Linked DNA regions of Homo sapiens: region 1 is linked to region 2. The links are contacts of gene promoters, found by promoter capture Hi-C in blood cells and fetal thymus (Javierre and others, 2016). All regions are on one chromosome and are shown on one strand. Each heading gives the region's core, a stretch centred on a gene start or on the middle of the fragment in contact. The rest is flanking DNA. Distances are from core to core; before and after follow the strand shown. Region 1 holds the start of OR52L1 (olfactory receptor family 52 subfamily L member 1). Region 2 holds the start of OR56B4 (olfactory receptor family 56 subfamily B member 4).

What was found. The method cuts DNA at HindIII sites, captures the fragments that hold promoters and counts their contacts. A CHiCAGO score of 5 or more calls a contact.
Region 1: the fragment with the promoter of OR52L1 here is called in contact with the fragment with the promoter of OR56B4 in region 2 in 12 of 17 cell types (activated CD4 T cells, erythroblasts, M2 macrophages and 9 more); the score reaches 9.0 in activated CD4 T cells.

Annotation. Positions count from the first base shown.
Region 1 is chr11:5,985,155-5,992,802 of GRCh38, reverse strand. OR52L1 (olfactory receptor family 52 subfamily L member 1) reads left to right here and starts at 5,818. Exons shown (of 1, transcript NM_001005173.3): 1 at 5,818-6,911. The coding sequence starts at 5,873. The coding sequence ends at 6,862. It also overlaps a transcript of OR56A3 not described here. The HindIII fragment of the contact is 2,597 bases long and covers 5,695-7,648 here.
Region 2 is chr11:6,104,652-6,112,443 of GRCh38, reverse strand. OR56B4 (olfactory receptor family 56 subfamily B member 4) reads right to left here and starts at 4,760. Exons shown (of 1, transcript NM_001005181.2): 1 at 3,609-4,760. The coding sequence starts at 4,665. The coding sequence ends at 3,706. It overlaps LOC124902622 (a long non-coding RNA gene), which reads left to right and starts at 395. Exons shown (of 3, transcript XR_007062565.1): 1 at 395-503; 2 at 2,096-2,180; 3 at 7,707-7,792. The HindIII fragment of the contact is 4,106 bases long and covers 4,235-7,792 here.

The sequences.
Region 1 (7,648 bases), core at 4,569-7,068, 120 kb after region 2:
ATTTCAGTGGGAAGCTTGTTACTGGGTAACAGATGGGACCAAGGAAAAGATCTGCTTGGTGATGGAAAAATAAGATAGAGAAGGCCTCAGCCCATCTCATTGGGAACTTGCTGGGATGGACTGTTGGAGAAGCCCTATTTGTCCTACATGCACCATGGCAAGGGGGTTGAGGCCCTTGGGTTTGTCACAATCCTACAGAGGAGAGGCAAAATGCTCAACTCACCTGAGGCAGGCAGCATTTGTCTTTTTTCAGAAACACACTCTGAAGCAGAGATTTGCATGCCGGAAGTTTATTGAGAAACATACAGGAGAACAATGATTGTCAGGGAGTGAGAGGAGCAAAATGAAGCAGAAGAAGAAATTAAACTATGATCTAGTTTTCTCAGATGACTCAGCTAACCCAGTGGGACCTCTCAAGCTAGGATGACTCTTCAGTGTTGTTTAAGATTGAAGAAAGGGAGCCAAGATTTTGTATTCTTATATCAGCAGTCATTGGGTGTGAACTGCGTTGGAGAAGGAAAAGTAAACTATGGTGAGGGCTCTCTCTTTGGCCAAAGGGGAGTGACTTAGTTATGAACTTCCAGCAGGCGACACTCCTAGCATCTGAAAGAATGAGCACATTGAACAACAGCATCCACTAAATAATTTACTGGGGTCCAAGATTGTTCCGTGAGAATGAGAAGTCTGAGCTCACAGAGCAATGTGAAATTTCCCAGCTCACTGCATGAGGTTTCCTAGCACACTGTCAGGACATACAGGCTTACAGGTAATGACCAACATTGGACAGACACGGTCCACGTGGTTAGGTGCAGGAGCCACTCCCTGCTTGGCCTCTCTGTCCAATCACCTACCCCTGTGGGCTGTATCCTTAGCTCTGTGCCTTTCCAGCCAATCTGGGGGCTAACTTAGGCTTTGTGCAGGTTGTCTATGAGTCCTCTGGGACCTGCCAATTGGTAATAATATCCTGCTTGCCCAGTGGTGCTCACAGTCACCACCACTGCCCTGGGAAAGTATCAAGGATAAACTTTCCTTTCAGATGAAGATGACAGAAACAGTGACAAGTTGGTGCACAGGAATTCAGCAGTGGAAAATGAGGTCAGTTTCTGGGTTTACAGTTGGGGGAAGACTATGGCCAGCTGAATTCTGCCCTTCTCAGAGCCCTTGTGACAGGGGTTATTTCTCAGCTTGTGTAGTGTGGCTCTCCCAATACCTCTGGTCTGACACTTCTTAGTAGTCTTAAGCTTATTTCTCTGAGTTAGAATAGTTGTTCTCTCCTGGCCTGACTCCTCAAACAAACTTTCTCCTCCTGGCTTCTACCATTTAGATGCTAGTGGACATGGAGGCTCTTCTATGAAATGTGACCTGTCCCTCTCTCTTTAATCTCCTTGTTAACAGTGGCCTGGACTCTATGACAGTGGGGGAAAGGGAGAGAAAAGAATATAGATGGAAAATGATTAGGGGAGGGCTGAGAGCTAACCTGTGAGCCTGTGGACACCTACCAATGTCTTTAACCCTTCATGGTCAGCCTGAGGCATTCACAGGGCCATTTGGCATGGTCCTAGGTGGCATCCTCACCATATGTATTGCGTATGTAGATACAGCTGATTTGCTACCTTTACTCAAGTCTTGCCAGAGCTAGTACTCATGTTTCATATCTTTGGAAAATTTTAGCTGCATAGACCTTGAGGGATGCATTTGATGTCCTCTTTGATATTCAGAGACTGCTGTGCAGCCATTCTGAATAGAAAATCCTCTTCATCATTGTTCCCCACAAGCTAGGGCAGAATTTCATCATGGAGATTGAACTGGAGACTTAGGGAGTTCCTGGGGCTAAGCAGGGAGGGCTGTAGTGGAACCTTCTTGAATTTTCCAGAAAACTCTTCATGAAAATTCCCAGACCTTCCAGAGTCTGAGAATTTTCTCCCTTTCCTAGTTCTCTCTGTGTTGCAGTCTCCCTCCAGGCTGACCTGAGTCTTTAAAGGGCACATCATCAAAGACAGCCCAGAGACCAGAAGGACAGTGCCCTGTGCCAGGCTTACTTTATTATCCATGTTGTGAGTGGAGCTCTGCCTCTTAATGTTTGATTTTTGTATCTTCGTCTTTTATTAGGTCATTGTCATGGACCCACTCTTTCTGTGCCCTCCCTCCCCTACTGTTTCTGTAAGTTCTTGCCTCTTCTTTTTTACCCTATTATCATAGAGATCAGGCCACTGTTAAGAAGGAGATTGAGGAGAGAGGGATAGATTATATCCCATAGATGGAGCCTCTCTTCCTGCTAGAAGCAGTGCAGAGTGATTACTAGGGACCAAAGAAACCCTCTTATTTCTGAACACATCCAGGATTTCACCATCTTCTCTTATGGCAGAGATTCAGCAGATCTCTTTCTGCCATGAAGCACCCAGAGCATCACTTAAGGTGAGGAATATCGAGGCTCAATCAGTGACACCCTCAAAAGACACGCCACTGTTTGCTACATGATTCCTATGCTTAAATTTAGCCTCTGCCTTATCACCTTCCTGTGATTCTCAGTCTTTTAAGACACTAGTGCACTTATTTATTTTTTAATCTAATAATATGAGTGTTTACTTATTCAGCCAACATTACTGATTACTCACTAGATTCCGGATGCTCCTGGAGCTTGCTCTGGGGCTGCTGAAATAAGTAATGCAGAGTCCCTGCTCTTTAAAGACTGACATGATGCCTGGCTTAGAGTGTGAGGTCTTAATGCAGGGACAAAGTGGTAAAGGCATTACAATAGGAAAGAAAAGGAGACATGTCATACTACCTTACAGAATTTGAGCACAACTTCACAAAAGAAAGGTTGCTTGGGTTGAATTAGATGAATAAGTACCAATTGAACAACATCTACTCTTTGGTAATTGTCCTCTGCTTTGTAGTTGAATAACTAAATACAGCTTTGCCTTTAGGTTCCTGGGAATAAAGTCCTTTCTGCTTTTCCTCTAAGAATCATAGCGGGACCTCCTGTTTACTTTAATAACAATTAATTGCAATTTATTTAAAAAATTCAAGAGCTTTAAGAGTATAAGTGGTTTTGGTTACATGGATGAATTGTATAGTGATGAAGTCTGGGCTTTTTAGTGTACCTATTATCTGAATAGTGTACATTGTGCCCAATATGGGATTTTTTTATGCCTTATCCACCTCCCACCCTCCCCTACTCTGAGTCAGAAATTAAATTAAAATAAGTTAAAAAATTAACATTTACTAAGCACTTGCAGACTTTTACCCTAGGCTTACGAGCCAAGCAACACAAAGTAGAAGCCGGTTATACTCAGTTACATGTGTCTCTGCTTTTCCGCTTATTTGTTTACTTAATTTACTTCTCTGCTTTATTTACTTACTTCTTACTTTATTTACTTTATTTACTTCTCTACTTATTTATTTACTTATTTCAGCAGCCCCAGGGCTAGTTTGGTTTTAGCCTCACTGCTCTGCTCACACTGCTACTATTCAAGTCTTGAGTGCCTTCCACAAATGCACAGCTGTTCTCTGACTCCTTAGCTAAAAAATGAGAAATGGGCTGAAGCGTGCAACAGAAGGAGGTAGGCAAAAAAGACAATGGACTTTCTCTCTATGTGGAATGTTAAGCACTGAGAGGTGAATTTTTGTAAGATTATGAGATTCCCCTGGATGTCTCAATAAAAATGTCATTGTTATTTCAAGTTGATTCTAGAAGAAAAACAGAGAAACTTGGGAGATATATGCCCACGTGGCATTTCAGACTTTATAGCTATCATATTCAGAGTTTTAGGGCAATATGATTGTCATCATTAATTTGTACAAAAAGAGCTCTGAGTAATCTATGGATGCATTATCCACAAGAACTAAGTCATTCTTGACTTTTTAATCTTTACACGCACATGTGCACCACCACTCCAACAGAGAAAAATACAGTTATTTCAGACTACGCCTGTCCTTTAAGACAAACATACCTACATACACATATCCAGTTTCAAGTTTTTTCTTTTAGTAAATTTCAAGGGTGAATCCCATGGACAAAGTTGATACTTCATGTTAACATGCGGTTGTCAAAGACACTGAATTGTTTGTTATAATATCATGATGAGAGGTAAACATATCAAAAGTTTGAAAAAGAGAAGCAGAGTCATGGAGACAAAGAAGAAAAGAAAGAAGCCTGTGGTCTAATTCTCAGTCATCTTCTATTGCTAATATTAAAATAATTATAACTATAATTTGTAGACTAATCTAGATATCAAGACTTTACATATATTACTTAATTAATGTTTACAATAAACCTGTAAGATTGATGTTAGTTATAAAATAAGGAAATCAAGACTGAGAGAGTTTTAGTATCCTGCCAAGGTTTTATTCCTAGAATATGAAATGGACAAAATTTAAACTAAGTCTGTCTTCCTCCATTGCTTTTATTTATCTCACTACATTGTGAAATGTTCACCATGCTATGTTATAATTATAAAGTATAATAAGATATGTTTCTTTAAAAAAACAAACCATTAAGACACTGATAGAATTTCTAGAGATAAGTCAGAAAGTTATGGATGAATAAAGGAAGATTATAAAGTGCTCTGAACATAATCAATATTCATCTGACATAGGCAATGAGTCCTTTTGAGGGGTGACAGTGGACTTTGAATTTTGAAGGACCAATTCAGATAAAGGAATTTGGAGACAGACTACACAAAAGGCATAGGTAAGCTTGGTGTGTACATGTAACTCCAAGAATGCAGGGATGGTTAGTAAAACATATGTAGAAATATATCAACTGTAAGACAAAAGTAATGCAAAAAAGATAACTTTTGATAATCTTTTATGCCAGTCTCAAAGTATGATTTTATTCCATGCAATAAATTCACCAAAGGATTTTAATCTTAGGAGTGATATGATGAGATCTGCATTTTAGAAAAAAAACCCATGACTTCAGGGTTGAGAGTGAATTGGGAAGGTGTTTATGGCAAAGGCAGAAAGATGTTATGAAATAGTCCAGGTGAGAGAAGTTGGGTGTAAACTAAGGTAGTGATATTGGGGGTTGAGAAGAAGGAGTGGATATAAGAGGGGTTAACATAAAGTCAACATGAATTGGTGAATGAATAAAAGGGGATGAGGATTATGAGTAAAGACAGGTTCCAAGTTTTTAGATTGGGTTGTGTAGGTAGCTAGGGATGTAATTAAAAATTATTGCCAAAACATAAGTAGAACAAATTTGGGAAAAATAGGTGAATTAATCCAATGTTGAATATGTTGAGGATGTGGTGTATAGATATTCATAAAGCAAATGGAAAAATGGATTTATATTTCAGAAGGATATTTGGGTAAACAGACATAAATTTGGAAGAAATAAAAGTATATAAACAGTTAAAACCATGGGAATAAATGAAGTCAATTAAGAGATAATGCACAGAATAGGGAATACAGGAGAGGATGGATCCCTGGAATCAATGACATAATGAGATAGAGAAAATGGTGGGACCAAGGCTACAGGGGGAACAACTCTGGAGTGCCATGTCATGGAAACTGAGGAAGACTAATTTCAAAAACAACAGATTGATTCACAGTGGTCAGTAATACCAAGAGGCTAATAAAAATAACTCTTTGAAGTTGACAGTTCCAAAATATAAGCAACTGAATAGTAGAGTTTAAGCATCTCTCCAAAAGCAGCTTATGTTTACTCTTATCTCTAAACAAAACTAAGCTTGTATTAATTCAGACATGTGGATGTCTCACTTGTAAAAGAATTATCTCCACCAAAGGAGATTTTCTTCCCTGTAGCTAACTTTATTCCCTTCGTTTGCAGTTGAAGTCACTTTATTCTTCTCAGGATGATGGTTGCCCCATTTGGACAATGTGATAATGTAGCAGGAATGCAGAAATCATGACTTTGGTTTCTTTTTTCTCTTTCCTCTCCAAGCCATTGATAATGCTCCTTAGCAATTCAAGCTGGAGGCTATCCCAGCCTTCTTTTCTCCTGGTAGGGATTCCAGGTTTAGAGGAAAGCCAGCACTGGATTGCACTGCCCCTGGGCATCCTTTACCTCCTTGCTTTAGTGGGCAATGTTACCATTCTCTTCATCATCTGGATGGACCCATCCTTGCACCAATCTATGTACCTCTTCCTGTCCATGCTAGCTGCCATCGACCTGGTTCTGGCCTCCTCCACTGCACCCAAAGCCCTTGCAGTGCTCCTGGTTCATGCCCACGAGATTGGGTACATCGTCTGCCTGATCCAGATGTTCTTCATCCATGCATTCTCCTCCATGGAGTCAGGGGTACTTGTGGCCATGGCTCTGGATCGCTATGTAGCCATTTGTCACCCCTTGCACCATTCCACAATCCTGCATCCAGGGGTCATAGGGCGCATCGGAATGGTGGTGCTGGTGAGGGGATTACTACTCCTTATCCCCTTCCCCATTTTGTTGGGAACACTTATCTTCTGCCAAGCCACCATCATAGGCCATGCCTATTGTGAACATATGGCTGTTGTGAAACTTGCCTGCTCAGAAACCACAGTCAATCGAGCTTATGGGCTGACTATGGCCTTGCTTGTGATTGGGCTGGATGTTCTGGCCATTGGTGTTTCCTATGCCCACATCCTCCAGGCAGTGCTGAAGGTACCAGGGAGTGAGGCCCGACTTAAGGCGTTTAGCACATGTGGCTCTCATATTTGTGTCATCCTGGTCTTCTATGTCCCTGGAATTTTCTCCTTCCTCACTCACCGCTTTGGTCATCATGTACCCCATCATGTCCATGTTCTTCTGGCCACACGGTATCTCCTCATGCCACCTGCGCTCAATCCTCTTGTCTATGGAGTGAAGACTCAGCAGATCCGCCAGCGAGTGCTCAGAGTGTTTACACAAAAGGATTGATCTGAACATATTCTCATTGTTTCCTTCGGAGGCTTCTTCTGCGGACCACAGCCAGGAGCCTGTGACTGGTGTAGATTACATGAATACAGACCATTTTGCAGTGAGTATTCCTTCTAGTCTTACTAGTGCCATGCTAAAGAACACCCACAGATACTTGGCTTATTGGGATGTACCTGGATATCTGGATTTGTGAATATTTTTGCCATTTTTTCTTTTGCTCTTGATTTCAACATTTCTCTACTCCTTGTGTCAGTAGGACTTGGGGATAGGAGAAATAGATGATAGCTCTGAATGTGTCATCTTTCTCGCCTTTGCCCAATGGTAGGCCATGCAACACTGTCTGGAATTGTAAAGTCCCACCCTTTGGTTGGTTTTAGGTTTAGAGTTTCTTCAAAACCTCTAAGTTAGTGCTGGGATCCCCAGATCATTGGCTCCTGTTTACCAATAGGGTCTCTTCAAAGCAGCTGAGAAGGTCGCAGTGTAAGAAAACAGCATTTATTGCAATATGGGTATTACTTATTTATTTAAAACAAACATAAGTGGAGAAGTTATGGTAATAGGCTCTAGGAATAATAAAATATAATTTCTATTTTCAAGGAAGAAATCTATATGTGTCTAGGAAATTTATTTTAAAAGATATCTCTTTGTATTTTCAACTTATTTATATTCATGCTTTGGATAAAGAAGGAATAAGACCAAGTACTGCGTATATGTTTGTTTTATAAATATTCATTAAAAAACCCAAAAGTAACCATATAATTATTAGCATCTAATAACTACAAAATG
Region 2 (7,792 bases), core at 3,511-6,010:
CTTACTAGTCAATCTCTTGATACTCCAATCCCTTGTTATAATTAAAAATTATTTATATTAACTTTCTCCTGTTGAAATTCATGTGGTTTCTCTCTCCTGATTGGACACCAAATAATATATTGGAAGAATGAAGCATACTAGAAATTGCTATGAACAATGAATTTAGTAAAGCTTCACAGTCAAATAGAAATAAATTTTGATAATGTAGTTGTGAATATTAAAAATTCTAAGACATTTTTGAATTGGAAGCGACATGCTTTAAAAAGTAATTATGACTTAGAACTAAAATTCCAAATTATTTTAGTAAAATCCAGTGTTCTAGTTATCTATGCTTTTTAACAGATCACCCTAAAGATAGTGGTATCAAACAACACTTATTTTATCATGCTCACAGATTCTCTGTGTCAGGAATTTAAGAGCAGTGCCGTGATGATGGCATACTTCTACTTCACAAATATGCAGCCTTGGCTCAGAAGACTCAGACAGCTGGAGGTGATCAAATGGTTAGTGACTGGAATCTGTTGAAGACATCTTCACTCACATGTTAGACTTCCTGGGCTAGCATGATTCCAAGGCTGGGCTCAGCTGGGGCTGTTGACTAGAGTCCCCATACTTGGCCTTGTCATGTGGTTTAGACTTCTCATCACGTGACAGCTGGATTCTGACAGGGAGCATCCTCCAGGGAGCAACCAGGGAGCAAATTTTCCAGGAGACACAAGTGGATGCTGAATGGCTTTTTTTGGACTTCTGTCACATTCTCTTGGTTAAAAGTGAATCAGTGAGGCTCAGATTCAAGGAGAAGGGGAACTAAGTTCAATTTCTTGATACGGAATTGTTAATGTTTCACTGCAAAAGAGCATGTGAGGTGGGAGCTATTATTATGCTTGTCTTTGGAATGTGCCATATTCAGTGAGATGTTCAACAGAGAATAAAAGAGACATAAAAATGATAAAGTTCTTATCTTGAGCTTGGAATTGGAATGAGAAAATACTGCATAACTATTATGTAATTTGGGCATATTAATAAAAAAGTATAAGTTTGAATGTGTTAATAAAGTTATGCATACAACAACCTGTCAAATAGATATATTTAATAAAATGTGCAGATCAATGAAATGGGGATGTGGGGAGATGTGTGAAAGAGATCAGTTCAGCAAAAGTCAGGAGTAGGAGAAATCTGCCAGAAAACATAATAAAAATAAATAAGATGACAGGGTGAAACAAAACAAAATCATAGGAATTATAACAAATATGAATGGACTTAGTTCCCCTATTTAAAGGGAAAGTTCCTCAAATATGGTTAAAAATAAAGATCAAACTAACGGTGTTTCCAAAAGACAGACTAAAGTTAAAATATCAAAGGAATATGGAAAGAAGTGAATGAGAGAAGACAAACAGGCAAATATAGTATGACAGTATTAAAATCATATAAAGCAAAGCATATGGGCAAATATGAAATACATGACAAACATAAATAATTCATAAAAATAAAACAATGCACAATCTTTTTTTATCCTCATGGCACATATAGAGGAGAGAATAATTAATTGCATAAATCTTCCTGACTCCAAGATGAATGTTAGGTGTTTATTTATTTTCAGAAGAACTGAGACACATGTCCACAGAAGTTGTTGAGAGTGGCCTACAATTTGGGCTGCTGTGCATAGACTCATGCTATGTATTTTTGAATGAATGAATAAATAAACAAATAAATAAATAAAGGTATGTATGAATGAAAGTTTAAAGGCAGCTTTGAGGATGGCACACTATTGCCATCTACCAGAGACAGCTAAACTGCCTGAGCCTCAGTACTGCCACTTCCCAGTGGGTGAATTTATATAATTACCCAAACTTAGCCCCTATTTCTTTGTAGAAAAGAATTAATAGTAATCCTTTAACAGCTTCCTAATTAAGAGGACTGCTATGAAAATTATGTGAAATTACTCAATCCACTGTGGGAAAGTATTTTGCAAACTGTGAAGAACTCTGCAGGATTAGATGTTATTACTCTGATCCTTCAGGGTAACAAACCATGGGAGGTTGAGTTAAGTTAAAATCCTTTCTGTAATTGTCTCTCTCTTGCCTCCTCTTATTAGATGATCAGTTGCTTCCATTTGAATCACTGTCAAGAAAGAATGAAGCAGCCAATTCTTTTGGAGGAAGTTGATAGTCTCTTTTTGGGTAAGTTTCCAAGCATAACTCTTAAGAAGTCCTGTCCCGCACACAGATGACTTCCCCCTGCAGCTCTGTTATGCTGCCCAGCATGCATTACTCTGGTGAGATGAGCTGATGGTTTCTGATGTTGCTTTAGTCCTTGTGCTATTTCCTAAGAAGTTGTTTTCCAAGGTGGACTCATGTGCAAACTTCCTGAGGTCATTATTCAGACCATGGTCCAGGTATTTTCTTTGATACACATAATTCAACAGATCTATAATGCTCCCTGATTATATAATGAATTAAGCACCTACTGTGTGCAATGTTCTGACTGAGGCTCATTGAAAGTACACATGAATGGTTCTTGTACTCAAAAAGTGTGCAATTTTTTTAGGTGAGCAAACAGCAAAAATTCAGTTAGCTTTAATTAACAGGTTATTTGAAACTATTTTTATAGGGCATTTTCTAGGATCCATTTTCTTCCTTTCCTAGCAAGAAAACTGCCACATAGTTAGATTTATATTTCCATGTGTATATCTTATTTCAAAGCATGTATTCTTTATCTCTTTTGATTGTCACAGCATGTTTGCGATTTGGCTCAGCAAAATGTTATGATTTTTGTCACTTTTAATCAGAAGAATTGAAACATAGGGAGGTTTCATAAGTTGTTCAAGTTCACACAGAAATTTTGGAACAGAGCAAGACTGAGAGTAAGAATAGTGCTATGGTTTTTCAATCAGACTTCCCAGGACTTGAATCCCAGCTCTCCCACTTAGAAACTGTGCTGTCAGGGGGCAAGTTCTATAATTTCCAGTGCCTGAGTTTTCTTAGCTGGAAATTGGGAATAATATTGTACCTGCCCAAAGGGTTATTGTGAGAATTGAGTCAGATAATCTACATACATATTTTATCAAAGTTTCTGGCCTACAAGAAGTATTTAACACTTGTTAACCATTAATTCATTAATTATTGAGATTTTTTTGGGTACGAAAATTAAACTTTACTCCTTTTTAATAAACATTTATTGTTTACTTTTTATTATAAAAATTACATATGAAAAGCACATAAATATGTAAGAGTTAAATATGTGTAAATATTAAAGGCTTTGTTTTCTATTATTAGTCATATTATAATGATTTTTATGAATAACTTTTTGACTGCATTTAGACTATTTCTTTTGGATATTTTTCTAAAATAGAATTACTGGTTAAGAACATTTAAACATTTATAAACATTTTGATAAATTTTACCAAATTGCTTTTTGGTGTGTTTATAGTCCTACCAGTTGTGTAGGAAAGTGTTAATCTCGGGGTAGGCTAGCAGTAATAGTTAGAAACATTTCACTTTTTTGTTCTTACTTATTTTCCAGGTAATAGGAAATTTTCTTGTAATTTTAATATACATATTTTGATTAGTGAGGCTGACAGTTTTCATGATTTTATTGGCCATTTTTTTCCTAGGGAGTGTGGTAAGTGCAGATTATAACCCTGATCTATTGAGAACTAAAACCTCTGTCATTTCCTAACATCTTACTGGATTCCTAAAGCTGGAGTTACTTGGACACGTCCTGACCCAGTCCAAGCAGTCTCTGAAAGCCCAGTCTGAGTTTGTGCATCCTGAGTGCACAGGCCAGGGGGTTGAGTGCAGGGGGGATGACATTGTGCAGCACATTAAGGAACACAGGAATAAGGGGAATCTTTTTCTCTGCAAGGTGTGTGACAGACAGCACAATGATACCTGTGTGGAAGAGGATGAGGATGAGGTGGGAGCTACAAGTGCTCAGAGCCTTGGACATTGCTTCTGCTGAGTTCAGCCTCAGCACAGAGTGAAGGATTACAGCATAGGAAGAAAATACCAGAGCCATATCACTCCCAACCAAGACCCATGCTAGCATCAGTTGGTAAAATTTGTTCACAGTGATGTCATCACAAGCCAGGCTGATAACCCCCAAGTTAGAGCAGAGGCAGTGCTCGATTTCATTCCTGGAACAGTAGTGTCTCTGGGCAGCCAGTATAGGCACTGGGATGGTCAACAGGCCATTCCTGAGCATGATGAACCCTGTGGCTTTGAAGACAAAAGCTTTAGTGACTATGGAGGGGTACTGAAGAGGGCGACAGATGGCTATGTATCTGTCTACTGCCATGCAGAGAAAGATGCCTGACTCTATGCAGAAGAAGCAGTGGATGGCATAGATCTGAGCAAAACACATGGGGAGGCTAATGGCCTTGGCATCAAACCAGAAGATGGCCAGGATCTTGGGCATGATGGTGGTGGCCAGGCCAATGTCCACCACTGCTAATATGCCCAGCAAATGGTACATGGGTTCATGTAGCACGGTCTCATGTTGAATGGTGATTATGATGAGGAGATTGGCACCAAGAGCTAAGAGGTAGAGCAGAGTCAGGGGCAGGGAGAGCCAGTGCTGCCACTCATGAATGCCTGGTAATCCCATCAGGATGAACTGGGAAATCTGGAGGCTGGAGTCATAGGTAACACTGGTGGAGGTATCCATGGAATGGGTGCCTCAGTCTCAGTGTCTGTCTGAAATAGAAGAAATCTCTGTTTAAAAGTTCAGCTAAGGGGCTGAGCATCGTGGTTCATGCCTGTAATCCCAGCACTTTGGGAGGCTGAGACAGGCAGATAATTTGAGGTCAGGAGCTCGAGACTGACCTGGCTAACATGGCAAAATCTCATCTCTGCGGAGAATACAAAAATTAGCTGGGTGTGGTGGTGCCTGTCTGTAATCCCAGCTACTTGGGAGGCTGAGGCATGAGAATCATTGAACCTGGGAGGCGGAGGTTGCCGTGAGCCGAGATTGTGCCACTGCACCCCAGCCTGGACAACAGAGTGAGACCCTGTCTTAAAAAACAAAACAAAACAAAAAGTTAAGTGTCTTGGTAAGAGCTCCTCAATAATGAACCAGCTCCTTTTATTCATGAATGACCCTCAACTTTATTTGACTTCTGGAAATATTCCACAGAGGAATAACAAAAAAAGCAAAAAAATTCTAAACAGAAGAGTTGGAATAACTATTTTTCATCACCACTTGTATGTCTAATAAGCATGTCCACATATATTAACAACAGTCTTATCACTAACAGATAACAAATGTTAGTATTTGATTTATTTCCAATTTTCTATTTTATTTTTAAACAGTCTACATCATTATCTAGAGATGATTTTGTATCTTGTTTTTGTCTTTTAGCAGTATGTGTTAAGATGTAATATAAGCACTCAAAAATTTTATTTCATGGATGAATACATTAACCAAAGACTTCACAATATTATTTAAAAAGTGTGATGTTAATTTTAATTGCTGCTTTAAATTTTTGCATTTGGCTATTCTATAATTTACTGACAGGTATTTTGCTTTTAATATTGTTTTCCTTGAGTAGAGTTTCAAAAGTGATGCAAAAATTATATATACAAAGGATATAATAGTCTTAAAATTTTAAATATAATTTTGATTTTATTTTAAGATATATTATCTATACATGGTAAAAATCAAAATAAAATGAAAAATATAAACAATGAAAAGTAAGACTCTCATGCTTGGGGCTTTGAAATCTTTTTCCTTTTCACTAGAGGCAGCCAGTAATATGTTTCTTGGGAATCCTTCCATTAATAGTTTATGCATGGATAAAAACATATATATATATATATATATATATATATAATTTTCATAAAAGACATAATCAATTGTTAGCACACCTTTCTCCTTTTTTCTTTCCTTTTCTTTTTTAACTTAATATTTTGAAGACTGCTCCATATTTCCATACTGCAGTTAAGTTGCATTATTTTCTACCACCTAGATGCCCTATAGTTTAATGATTTTTTTTTGTATTTTTAGAATTGATATATCATATTTGTAGATATTTTGGAGGTACATGTGATATTTTGATACATGTATACAATGTGTAATGATCGAATCAGTGTAATTAGGATATCCATCACCTCAAGCATTTATCTTTTCTTTGTGTTAGGAACATTGCAATTCTCTTTTAGCGATTTTGAAACATACAGTAAATTATTAACTATAATTTTCCTACTGTGCTATTGAATACTAGAACTTATTTCTTCCACCTAACTGTATTTTTGTCCCCATCAGCCACCCTCTATTCTTCCCCTACCCCCACCCTTTCCGGCCTCTGGTAACCACCATTCTATTCATTACTTCTGTGAGATCCACTTTTTTTCTTTTTCCGGCTCACTGCAAACTCCACCTCCCAGGTTCAAGCGATTCTCCTGCCTCAGCCTCCCGAGTAGCTGGGATTACAGGTGTGTGCCACCACACCCGGCTAATTTTTGTATTTTTAGTAGAGATGGGGTTTCACCATGTTGGCGAGGCTGGTCTCAAACTCCTGACCTCAGGTGATCTGCCTGCCTTGGCCTCCCAAAGTGCTGGGATTACAGGCGTGAGCCACCGTGCCCAGCTGAGATCCACTTTTTAAGCTCCCAAACATGTGTAGGAACATGTAATATTTGTCTTTCTCTACTTGATTTATTTCACTTAACACAATAACCTCCAGTTCCATTCATGTTTCTGCAAATGACAGGATTTTATTCCTTTTTGTGGCTGAATAATAGGCCACTGTGTGTGTGTGTGCGTATCACATTGGATATATATATACACTCTCTATACTATATACAGTGTGTGTATATATAGTGTGTATGTATCTATATATATCTCTCTCTATATATCTCATATTTTCTTTATCCATTCATCCATTCATGAACACTTAGGTTGATTCCATATGTTCGCTATTGTGAATAGTGCTGCAATAAACATGACAGTGCAGATATCTCTTCTATTTACTGATTTCCTTTCTTTTGGATATAAACCCAGCAGTGAAGTTGCTGTACCATATGGTAGTTCTCTTTTTAGTTTTTTTGACGAACCTCCATATTGTTTTCCATAATGGCTGTACTACTTTACAATCCCACCAACAGTGTACAAACATTCCCCTTTCTCTGCACCTTTGCTTGCACTTTCATATTTTTGATAATAGCCATTCTAACTGGAATGAGATGATATCTCTTGTGGTTTCGATTTTCATTTCCCCAATGATTAGTGATGTTGAGCAGTTTTTAATATAGCTATTCACCATTTGTATGTCTTCTTTTGACATATCTGTTCAGATATTCTGCTTTTTTTTTTTTTTTTTTTTTTGAGACGGAGTCTTGCTCTGTCGCCCAGGCTGGAGTGCAGTGGCACAATCTGGGCTCACTGCAAGCTCTGCCTCTGGCCTCAGCCTCCCCAGTAGCTGGGACTACAGGCGCCCACCACCATGCTTGGCTAATTTTTTGTATTTTGGGTTTCACTCTGTTAGCCAGAATGGTCTCAATCTCCTGACCTAGTGATCCACCCGCCTCGGCTTCCCAAAGTGCTGGAATTACAGGCGTGAGCCACCGCACCCAGCCTCTGCTTCCTTTTTAGTTGGATTATCTGTTTTTTTCTAGTGAGTTTCATATATATTCTGGTTATTAATCCCTTGTCAGAGATTTTGCAAATATTTTCTCCCTTTCTCTCCTCATAAATTGTTTTTCTTTCAGTAAACATGTGAGTTTGAAACAGAAGGAAGTTTGCAAGAAAACATCAAAAAGTTATCAGACATGTTTCTTCCTCCAATAGGTGTCAG